3 separate regions of the Homo sapiens genome follow, and all the other regions are linked to region 1. The links are contacts of gene promoters, found by promoter capture Hi-C in human tissues and cell types (Jung and others, 2019). All regions are on one chromosome and are shown on one strand. The core of a region is centred on a gene start or on the middle of the fragment in contact, and the rest is flanking DNA. Distances in the headings are between cores, read along the strand shown.

Evidence for each region. The method cuts DNA at HindIII sites, captures the fragments that hold promoters and counts their contacts. A contact is called where the count stands out against the background at its distance.
Region 2: a fragment that was not itself captured here is called in contact with the fragment with the promoter of MAVS in region 1 in 1 of the 25 tissues and cell types used here (aorta).
Region 3: a fragment that was not itself captured here is called in contact with the fragment with the promoter of MAVS in region 1 in 1 of the 25 tissues and cell types used here (liver).

Annotation. Positions count from the first base shown.
Region 1 is chr20:3,844,429-3,848,164 of GRCh38, reverse strand. MAVS (mitochondrial antiviral signaling protein) reads right to left here and starts at 1,331. Exons shown (of 7, transcript NM_020746.5): 1 at 1,262-1,331. RefSeq lists silencers at 1,055-1,434, 1,865-1,914 and an enhancer at 3,276-3,415. The HindIII fragment of the contact is 19,994 bases long and covers 1-3,736 here.
Region 2 is chr20:3,979,508-3,982,908 of GRCh38, reverse strand. The region is part of intron 1 of RNF24 (ring finger protein 24); the gene reads left to right. Among named protein-coding and RNA genes, the nearest start is that of RNF24, 34 kb to the left of the region's middle. The HindIII fragment of the contact is 6,490 bases long and covers 1-3,401 here.
Region 3 is chr20:3,649,476-3,653,072 of GRCh38, reverse strand. It overlaps ATRN (attractin), which reads right to left. Exons shown (of 29, transcript NM_139321.3): 29 at 1,955-3,597. Among named protein-coding and RNA genes, the nearest start is that of GFRA4, 12 kb to the left of the region's middle. The HindIII fragment of the contact is 6,966 bases long and covers 1-3,597 here.

The DNA of each region.
Region 1 (3,736 bases), core at 82-2,581:
TTGGACCACTGCGCTCCAGCCTGGGCAAGAGAGTGAGACTCCATTTCAAAAAAAAAAAGACCCCTTTCTCCTTCCTTTCTCATGGCATCAGCCAGGTACCAGAAGGCAGTCAGATGAGGCACTCTTCTGCATTCCAGCTTCAGCCACAGATGGAGGGGAAGGGATGATGTGGCCCAAACAAAAGGAAAGGAAGCCCACATTTGTTCACATTTATGGAGGGCCCATTGTAGACAGGCACATCCTAAGGTTCTTTCAGTTAATCCTTCCCCAATCCCGTGACAGGGAAAGTGTTGCCAAGGTGCACAGCTGGCCAGAGGCTAGCACAGGATTTGAACCCAAAACCTGCTGCCTCACTGCAACTGGTCATACACCTTGCAGGGCACAGAGACCCCTGCAGCGAGACCCACACAGCCACCTGCCTTCAAGCCCAAAGAGGACCCAAGGTCACTTGGCGGGAGGGAGGCTGAGGGTGCACTTAGGTGGAAGCAACATTTAGTCCAGACATTAACCCTGCTTTCACATGGCTGCCACAGGTCCCAGGTCGCTGGCTGTCCTCCTAGATATTTTTGAGGCTTCACGGCTTCCATACAGAGAATCCCTTTTTCGTGTTTTTGGTTTGTTTCATGTTTTCTTGGCACTTCCTTCCCAACTGAGAAGGAAGTAGGTGACAGAGTGTTCCCAATACAGCAAAGTTTCCGACCTGACTGTCCAGAGGCTCTGAGTGCATCCCGGAAATAAACACCCACCCTTCCCAAAGGGACAGGCCTCACAGCCTTGGATCGGATTCCTGGGCGCGACCCAGGTCCGCGGAGGGCGGGGAGGCCGTTTTGAGCTGGTGTCGCCGCCGAGAACTGTCCAGACCCAGCGGAGGGCGGCAGCACTCGACCTCTAGGCGCACCCGGTCGAGGCTCGGCCCCACCTTAGCGTCACCCTGGGCCCGCGGGCGGCAGGAGGAGGTCAGCGGCCGCTGCCCGTCCCCTTCTGGCCCTACCTTTCCCCCAGCCTGAGCAGACGCCCAGCGCCACCTACCCCCTTTTCCCCGGATGCTGGATGCGGCGCCTGGAGCCCTCAGTGTTCCCGAAACTCTTGCGACAGGGCCCGCTCTTCCGGATCCCCGCGCGTCCTGTCCCCTCCTGGGCCCCCCGCGCACCCCAGACCCAGGGCGTCCCGGCGGACTCCGTCCTGCCGCTGCAGCCACCTTCCCTAAAGGCGTCCGTGCGTGCTGAGCCGAAAGGACCCAACGCCCGGGAAGCGATCTTACCTCGGGTACCCCCGGCCCTGAGACCTGGCGACCGCCGCCCGGGGCCCAGGACCCTTCCCGCAGCGAGGAGGCGGGGCGGGCAGAGCGCGCGGCCATTGGCCATGTGGAGGGGCGGGGCTACTCGGCCGCGCGTGGTTGGCTGGCGACGCAGGCGGCTGCGCAGCGGGGACGGTCACTGGGCCTTGGTTTGCGGGTCGGGAAGCGCTAGACTGGGCTCGGAGAACCGACCTGATTTTTTGCTGGGGGCGCGCAGTCTCGAGCAACTTCCAGGGGAAGTCCGGTGTCCGGCCAGAAACCAGGCAGGTGGCCGGCCTCGGAGTCATCGGGGGGCTGAGAATTCCATCCCCACGCTTCCCAAGTGAAGCAGCCCCTCCTCCCCCTGGGAACTTTGAGGGGTGAGGGTCTTCGTGTCGTTCTCTCCGGCACCCCCATGGCCTGGCATACAGTTAGTGCCCAATAAACGTTGGGTGCCGCTGAAGTCACAGGGGCAAGGATGCCTATCCTGGAGACGTGCACGCTGGGCCTGTGGGAGTGGGAGCGGGCGGGGGACTGCTGGGTAGGTAGGCGCAAGGCAGGGACGCCAAGGTTGGCTGGCGGGCAGGCTGGGTATGGGTTGGGTGCTGCGTGGGAGAGGCCTCTTACGCCCAAGGGCCTGGGACAGGTACCTCCCGCAGTTCCTGCCATCTGCCTCGCCCTTCCCCTTCTGGGGCAGAGGCCAGCACTTACTGAGCACCTACGATCTTCCAGGCACAGGGTCTTCTATTCTTTTTTTTTTTTTTTTTTTTTGAGACAGAGTCATGCTCTGTCGCCCAGGCTGGAGTACAATGGCGCGATCTCGGCTCACTGCAACCTCCACCTCCTGGGTTCAAGCAATTCTCCTGCCTCAGCCTCCCAAGTAGCTGAGATTACAGGCACATGCCACTGCGCCCGGCTAATTTTTGTATTTTTAGTAGAGACGGAGTTTCACCATGTTGGCCAGGCTGGTCTCAAACTCCTGACCTCAGGTGATCCTCCCACCTCGGCCTCCCAAAGTGCTGGGATTACAGGCGTGAGCCACTACGCCCAGCCTCAAGTGAGGTTTTATTACTGTACTTTATATCCCTGTGAATATTTCACAACCTTCAGCATTTACAAAGTATGCTTAATCACACCTGAACTGTAATAAAACCAGCTCTGCCTAGTTTAGCCAAGAGGGCATAAATGTTGATTAGTTCAAGAATCAATCCTGCCTGCTCCCCACCGGAGCAGCTCTAGCAGCTTCATATCTAATTCTTTCAGGAAGAACATTGAAAGTGTAGGAGCGGGCTTCCAAGTGCAGCTATCACTCCTGTCTTTGCTGGACCTCAAAGAGCATTCAAACAATCCCACTGCCTGACTAGGTGGTTCCCTGCCACCTATCAACAGCTTTTATAAAGATTTAGACAAAGAAGAACACAACAACATGCTTATGGTATTCCTATCAAAAGCTCATGATCTGAAACTAATCATAGGGAAACAGTAAGCAAACCCAAAACGAGAGACATTTGACAGCTGTCCTATCCAATACAATGGCTACTAGCCACATGTAGCTATTTTAATTAAAATTAAATAATACTTAGAAGCCAGTTCCTGAGACCCACGAGCCACATTTCTCTTTTTTTTTTTTTTTTTTTTTTTTGAAACAGAATCTCACTCTTTCACCCAGGCTGGAGTGCAGTGGCCCAATCTCGGCTCACTGCAACCTCCGCCTCCCGGGTTCAAGTGATTCTCCTGCCTCAGCCTCACGAGTAGCTGGGACTACAGGCGCATGTCACCACGCCCGGCCAATTTTTGTATTTTTAGTAGAGACGAGGTTTCACCATATGGGCCAGGCAGGTCTCAAACTCCTGACCTCAAGTGATCCACCCACCTTGGCCTCCCAAAGTGCTGGGATTACAGGCGTGAGCCACTGCACCTGGCCCATGAGCCACATTTCAAATGCTATTTTCATGTAGCTAATGGCTTCATACTCGGTGACACAGAGCATTTCTATTTTTTTTGTTTGTTTTGTTTTGAGACAGAGTTTCACTCTTGTTGTTGAGGTTGGAGTACAATGGCGTGATCTCGGCTCACCACAACCTCTGCCTCCCAGGTTCAAGCGATTCTCCTGCCTCAGCCTCCCGAGTAGCTGGGATTATAGGCATGCACCACCATGCCCAGCTAATTTTGCATTTTTAGTAGACACGGGGTTTCTCCACCTTGGCCAGGTTGGTCTCAAACTCCCGACCTCAGGTGATCTGCCTGCCTCAGCCTCCCAAAGTTCTGGGATTACAGGTGTGAGCCACAGCGTCAGGCCCAAACAGAGCATTTCTATCATCACTGAAAGTTCTATTGGATAGCACTGCTCTGCAGAATAACTCTTCAAAAATTTCAAGGTCAGGAAAAACAAGGAGACTGAGAGACTGCTCCAGAGAAAAGGACACCAAAGTGACATGACAACTGAATGCAATATGGGAA
Region 2 (3,401 bases), core at 375-2,874, 130 kb before region 1:
TCTCACTTTGTTTGTAGAGACAGGGTCTCACTCTGTCATGTAGGGTGGATGGAATACATTGGCACAATCACAGCTCATTGCAGCCTTGACTTCCCGGGCCTAAGCAGTCCTTCCACCTCAACATCCCAAGTAGCTGGGACCACAGGCATGTGTCGCCACACCTGGCTACTGATTTTTTTAATTTTGTAGAGACAGGGTCTCCCTATGTTGCCCAGGCTAGTCAGGGACTCTTGGGCTCAAGGGATCCTCCCACCTTGGCCTCCCAAAGTGCTGGGATTATAGGTGTGAGCCACTGCAGCAGGCTCCCACCTCTTTTTTTTTTTTTTTTTTGAGACAGAGTCTCACCCTGTTGCCTAGGCTAGAGTGCAAAATGGCACGATCTCGGCTCACTGCAACCTCCACCTCCTGGGTTCAGGCGATTCTCCTGCCTCAACCTCCCGAGTAGCTGGGATTACAGGCACGCACCACCAGGCCCGGCTAATTTTTTGTATCTTTAGTAGAGACAGGGTTTCACCATGTTGGCCAGGCTGCTTTCGAACTCCTGACCTCATGATCTGCCCGCCTCGGCCTCCCAAAGTGCTGGGATTACAGACATGAGCCACTGCGCCCAACCCTCTACCTCTTAATACTGTTAAAATTGTTATTAGGTTTCAAGAGGAGTTTGGGAGGGGACAGATACTCAAACCATAGCAAGACCCATTCTCCCCAAAATAAGCTATAAATTTAATGTACTTTCAATTAACTTCACAATAGCATTTATTTATTTATTTATTGAGAGAGAGAGAGAGAGAGAGAGAGAGAGAGACGAGGTCTCACCCTGTTGCCCAGGCTGGAGTGCAGTGGTGCGATTAGCGCTCACTGCTCCTGGGCTCAGGTGATCCTCCCACCTCACCCTACTAAGTCGCTGGGACCATAGGCATGCACCACCATACCCAGCTAATTTTTATATTTTTCGTAGAGACGGGGTTTTACCTGTTGTCCAGGCTGATCTTGAACTCCTGAGCTCAAGTGATCTGCCCATCTCTGCCTCCCCAAGTGCTGGGATTACAGGCGTGAGTTAGTGTGCCCGGCCCAATAGAATATTTTAAAGACTGGTTTAGCTGAAAAAAAGATTATGTAAGAATAGCCTTGAAAATATTAAAGAGGAAGAGTAGTGTTGAAAATATTGCCCTAGCATATATGAATTAGTGGTATGCTAATTCATATGTAATGTATGTATGTAAAAATATTAAAAAATTAGCTGGGCATGATGGTGCATGCCTGTAGTCCCAGCTACTCGGGAGGCTGAGGCAGGAGTATTGATTGAACCTGGGAGGTGGAGGTTGCAGTCAGCCGAGATGGTGCCACTGCACTCCAGCCTGGAGACAGAGCGAGACTCTGTCTCAAAAAAAAAAAAGAAAAAAAGTGACTCCAAAAAAGGTAGAACTTTAAGACAGTGGAGAAAGAATTTTATAAATGCTGTTGGAATAGTTGACTAAATTGGAAAAACCATTTTAGGTCTTTTTTCCATGCCATAAATTCAAGATGGATTAAACATTTAAATTTAAGGCATAAAACTATGCAAATAAAAGAGAATATAAGTGGGTATTTCTGTCATCTGATGTGGGGAAACCAAAGATAGAAATCGTAAAGCAGGGGCACAAACTCAGTGCCAACAGAAGCCAGGCAGGAAATTGAATCAGCCAAATACACTTGGTAGAAGGCAAAATCATGAAACCATCAATTTCTTTTCTTTTATTTTTTTTGATAGAGGTAGAAATATTTACGTTGAGAAAAATAACAGCCCAAGCACAAGTGGCAACCTACATCTGGTCCAGAATTAGGAAGTGATAAGGAGTGGTAGAAATGGTGACAAATGGCGATTCTGTTGACAATAGGGCCAGGCACACTTACACTGTAACCCATAAGCATTCAGGGCCGCCCCCTCCCCCTGCCCCCCCCAACACACACACACAAATTGTGCAACAACATGGCAGCCTGGGAGCAGAGGCCACTCAGCTCCAGGCTGTTTTTGCCGTGTAAGAATGGAGCCCAGGGTTATTAGATCTGACCTTTTTCTGTATAGAGCTGGAAATTGCTAATTTTATGTTAAATCTCCCAAATCTAAATTATCTCAATCTTTAAAATTTTGTACAGGCCAAACAAAATACTTGTTCAGGCCAGATTCAGTCCAGAGGCCTTGAGTTTATGAACTCTGCTGTAAAGTTGTGGTTTTAGTTTCAGGATTATGCTTACACCTTTAAATGAGTTGGGATGCTTTCCATCATTTTTTTGTATACTCTGAATCAGTTTACAGTAGTTCGCCCTTATTTTCAGTTTCGCTTTCTGCAGTTTCAGTTACTCATGGTCAACTGTAGTCTGAAAATATTAAATGGAAAATTCCCAAAACAATTTGTAAGTTTTCGATTATTCACCATTCTGAGTAGTGTAATGAAATCTCAAGCTGTCGTGCTCACTGCATCTCACCCAGGACGTGAATCATCCCCTGCCCAGTGTCTGCATGCTGTGTACACTACCTGCCCATTAGGGTCTTGGTTATCAGTTCAAAAAAACGTAGGACTCGGTGCTATCCGGGTTTTCAGGCATCCAGTGGGGGTCTGTGAACATATCTACCATCGATAAGCAGGGACTACTGTACATAGCAGACTACTTATCTATGCAAGTTTAGCGAGTTCCACTTTCATTGCCATTGGGGTCTGAAGCCTTTTTTGTGAAGATATTTCTATATTTTCAAGTTTTCTTCTTGAGCCAGTTTTGGTTATATTCCTATAAAATCTATTCTAGAATTTAAAATTAATACTCAAATTATCTCATGGATGTTTTTAAATCTCTGCATAAGAATTTTTTTATCTGTCTCATTCTTAGTGTTTTGGTTAGTTGATTTCAATTCCTTTCATTGTTTTGTTTTAATTCATACATTTTTGTTTGACCTTTATTAATTCCTTCTTCTGGCTTATTTTGTTTGATTTGTTCTTTTTCTACTTTCCAGAATTGAATTCTTGTGTCCATTTATTTTCATTATTCTTTTTTAGATTGATAATACGATCAGTTACACTTATACACCTACACAGTAGCCTGTAAGAATACTTTTCCCATGTTGAAGGTAATGGATTTTTCTCTCAGTATGAGATTTTTTTCCCACAATGTGATTAACTTCTAAATGGTCTGTGATTTGTTTTAGTTACTTACTAGACAGAAGTCATTTTATTTTATTTTATTTTATTTATTTTTTTGAGGTGGAGTTTCACTCTTGTCACCTAGGTTGGAGTGCAATGGCGTAATCTCTGCTCACTGCAACCTCTGCTTCCTGGGTTCAAGGGATTCTCCTGCCTCAGCCTCCTGAGTAGCTGAGATTACAGGCACCCACCACCACACCCGGCTAATTTTTGTATTTTTAGTAG
Region 3 (3,597 bases), core at 489-2,988, 200 kb after region 1:
CTTCCTCAATTGCCACCGTTTTTTTTTTTTTTTTTTTTTTTTTTTAAGGCTTTGCTAATGGTTTCTTAAATTTACTACATCTTTATTTATTTCCAGGCAGGTCCAGGGTCAGTGACTACATTCATGGTTTGTTCCTGGAAACAGTTCTCATGTCAGCTTTTTCTTTGCTTCCTTAACCACGTGCCCCTCCCTCAAGCTGGTGGCTTTGCAGTTTCCATGCTCCAGTGGGAAGACCACACCCTTCATTGGATGGTCACCATGAGGCCCAGTCACTGTGTTCAACTAAGTCTCATGGGGCCTTTGTTGCTCACCTGCACCTCTTACTGGTTGGAGACTAGAAGCAGTTGGCTTTTCCAGAATTGCAAGGCCCTGGTTAACATCTTTCCATCTTTTTCCCTTCTGCTTGTAAACTGGCTAATTCTTTCTTGAAGTAAACTTTTTCTCGTGATGCCTCGCCAAAAGCAGCCAGTAACAATCAACACATATTTGTTGTTGTTGTTGTTGTTTATTCCCCTCAAGTCAAAAAGTCAGCAGACATGGAGTTTGTTTTCCGAGTTATCGAGTGAAACGGCCTTACCAGATGTTTTGCTCCGCCTGGCAGGGACCTCAGTTGTCCTGCCAGCTGCACCTGTCTTATCACTGCTCGCCACCTGGCCACACGCTGAGCCAGTGCCATGTACTTAAGGGTTTGGTTACATGTGCACTGCACTTCAAAGTGCTGATTTGTATATTAGTGAGAATAAGAAAAGCTAACTAGTGTAACAAAGCCCCAAATCTCAGTGGATCAGCAGAGTGAGTTTGCTTTCCAGTGATGCAAAGGCCAGCACAGCTCTTACTGATCAGGCGGCCGGCCTCTAAGGGGTGACTCAGGGACCCACAGTCCCTCCAGTCTTTAACATGTGATCCGTAGGAGAGTCCCCTGTGGGAGCATTTGTGTGCCACGTTTGGAATTGGTGCCCATCACTTCTTCCAACCTTTCCTTGGCCATGGCTTAGCTTGGTCCCAACCTAACTGCAGGGAGGCTGGGAAATGATGAGCTGTGGGCCCAGTAGGTTTGGTAAACACAGCATTGTCTCTGCCACAGTACCACCAAATCACAGGGTTTCTATCCTGTTACTGTTGGTGGCTCTCATAACCCTCCCTGGAAGAGTTTCAAGGTCCTTCTCAACTTGTTTGCAGCCACTAGTCCAGCCATTTCCCTCCCTAAGCCAGACCTGAGCTCTGGTAGGCAGGCCTCCTCCAGGCTCCTGCCCTCACCTCAGGCCCTGGCCCTAGTACCCTGCCATCTTCCCCTACAGGAGTGACCGTCTTGTGTTTCCTCCTTCTTTCAATGACCTCATCCTTCTGGAAGGAACTGCTAGCACTGGGAATCTGCACTCTGCACTGAAATACATGACTCTGACCCATTCTGAGGGCAGGAGCCAAATAAAAGGGGGCAGGACACACAGGAGGCCCCCAAACAAGGCCTTGCCAATGGGAGTAACTTCCTCAAAACTTCAAGGCCGAGGAAAACACTGGCCACGGCTGAGACCTGTCAGCACACCTGAGATTTAGCAGTTTGGAGACAACCTAGAGGACATTCAGGAGCCTGTGAGGAGAGCGCAAAGTGGAGGGATAACAGCACCACTGGAGACAGTGGTGTGGTTAGTGGAGCAGTGAGACGGCTGTCCATACCTCACTGCTCAGATCTGTCCCTGCCCCCACGGGCCCAGCTGCCCTGTAGGCACACAAAGGCTGTGTGGAAGGTCTGTGGCTCACAAGCTGCCTGGAGGGCTGTCTGAGGTACCTGCCAGGGGTTTTCACCCTCACCTCCGTTAACTGTCAAGTGCTCCCTCTGACGCAGTCTGAAAACTGGTAAACGCTTTTTTTTTTCCCTTAAGGTTCTAATGACCAAAATGTAAATATAGGCAAAACAATGCAAAATCAAAATGAAACACTCAGAACAAAAGCCACATTTTTACCAGATCTACTTTTATTTCAGAAGGAAGTTTGTATTATAGTATTTACTTTTGTTTATATACAAGTTCTTCACATTTGTGTTTAAAATGCACAGACCTCCCTTAGTTCTCTTGTTCCTGCTTAAATTAGCTGTTATTTTACAATACAAAAAATACCAAAAAATTGCAGTCCTAAATGTATGTATAACACCCACAATCCCCGCGATGAAATAGTTTACAATACTTACTCCATATTTACATGAGTGTAATAGATGCTAAATTATACATATTAACAAACTAAGCTTGAATCCAAACAAACGAAATCGTAAATAACTATAAAACAAAAACATTTCCAGAGCCAGAATTAGTTCAACGAAACAGGCTTCACTAGTGTTTAGAATGTTTTGTGCACAAATTCAGTTACTGAAAATCAATTCCATTACTGCCTTTAAAAGATGAGGTGCCAATTTTCCTCTCCATTTCAAAACATCTCCTTGTAGGCAGGGTGTTTGACTCTCATCAAGGGGCAATATCTCTTGGTGGGCCTGGCTATCTAGAAACCACCGCAATGGCTGGAGCCAAGTTTGGTCAATGGGGTAAACATTTCAGAAGGTAGGCAGGGCATGCCCTGAGGCCAGGAGGCCTCTGCCGTCCTGGCTGTGTCCTCAGGATGGCCAATTCTCACAGAAACCACCACAAGGAAAGATCTCCTGGGATGACAGGGGTGTGAGGACTTGGATTTTGTTTTAATTCTAAAATCTATTTTTACATCTCAGTCACTACCCTAGCATTAGCTTAAGTTAGTGTTTAGCAAATACTTGTTGAATGGATGGATGAATAAATGAAATGGAAGGATCAAAGATGTTCATGAAAACACCACCATCTCCCAAGGAAGTGAATCAGCCCCTGGCCCCAGTACACCCCATTAAATCAAAGGAGCAGGATTTGCACTGGAAGGTAAAATGCCTCTTCCCACCAGCAGTGCCCTGCTCTTTTTATTTCCCAGGTGTCTCCAGTCTTGAATGGCAGGACTTACCCACGGGTAGTCCAGTACTTTCCTTCTGCTGACAGTCTTCTGTCCAGGACTGCCTTTCCTCCGGGTTAGCTCAGGGGATCTGGGGTTGCCTTCTCTCCACACGGGGAGGCACAGGCTTCTCCCCAGGCTGTGTGCAGGGATGGCAGGAGGCACACAGGAGTCCAGGGTATGTCAAATTCTCCATGGGGAAATGGGAACTATTTATCAACAAACTAGCTCCCTACTCCCACCCCCAGTTTTCAGTATAATAAACTGATTCCAGGAAATGGTCATTAAAAATTTAGACAAAACTACAAAAAATGGAGAACCCCCTTTTGGAAAGTCTGATTGCTACAGGTTAGTCTTTGAACTTAAAGACTAAGAGAAACATTTCTCAGGACAAGACTGGTCATCCCTCACTACCCAGAGCACCAAGAGGCTGCCAGAAAGGGTCATGATGTGCTTGCAGGGCCAAGGGCAGCGGCAGGGACGCCTCTGCTTCCTGAGTCTCCTCCAGCACTGTCGTTTCGATTCCCTGCCTGATTTTTCATGTGCACTCTGACAGATGAGTCCTGTTTTAAGAAATACCTAATTGGTGCCAGATGCATCTGAACACATCACACAATGGGGATGCGTTTCTTGGGT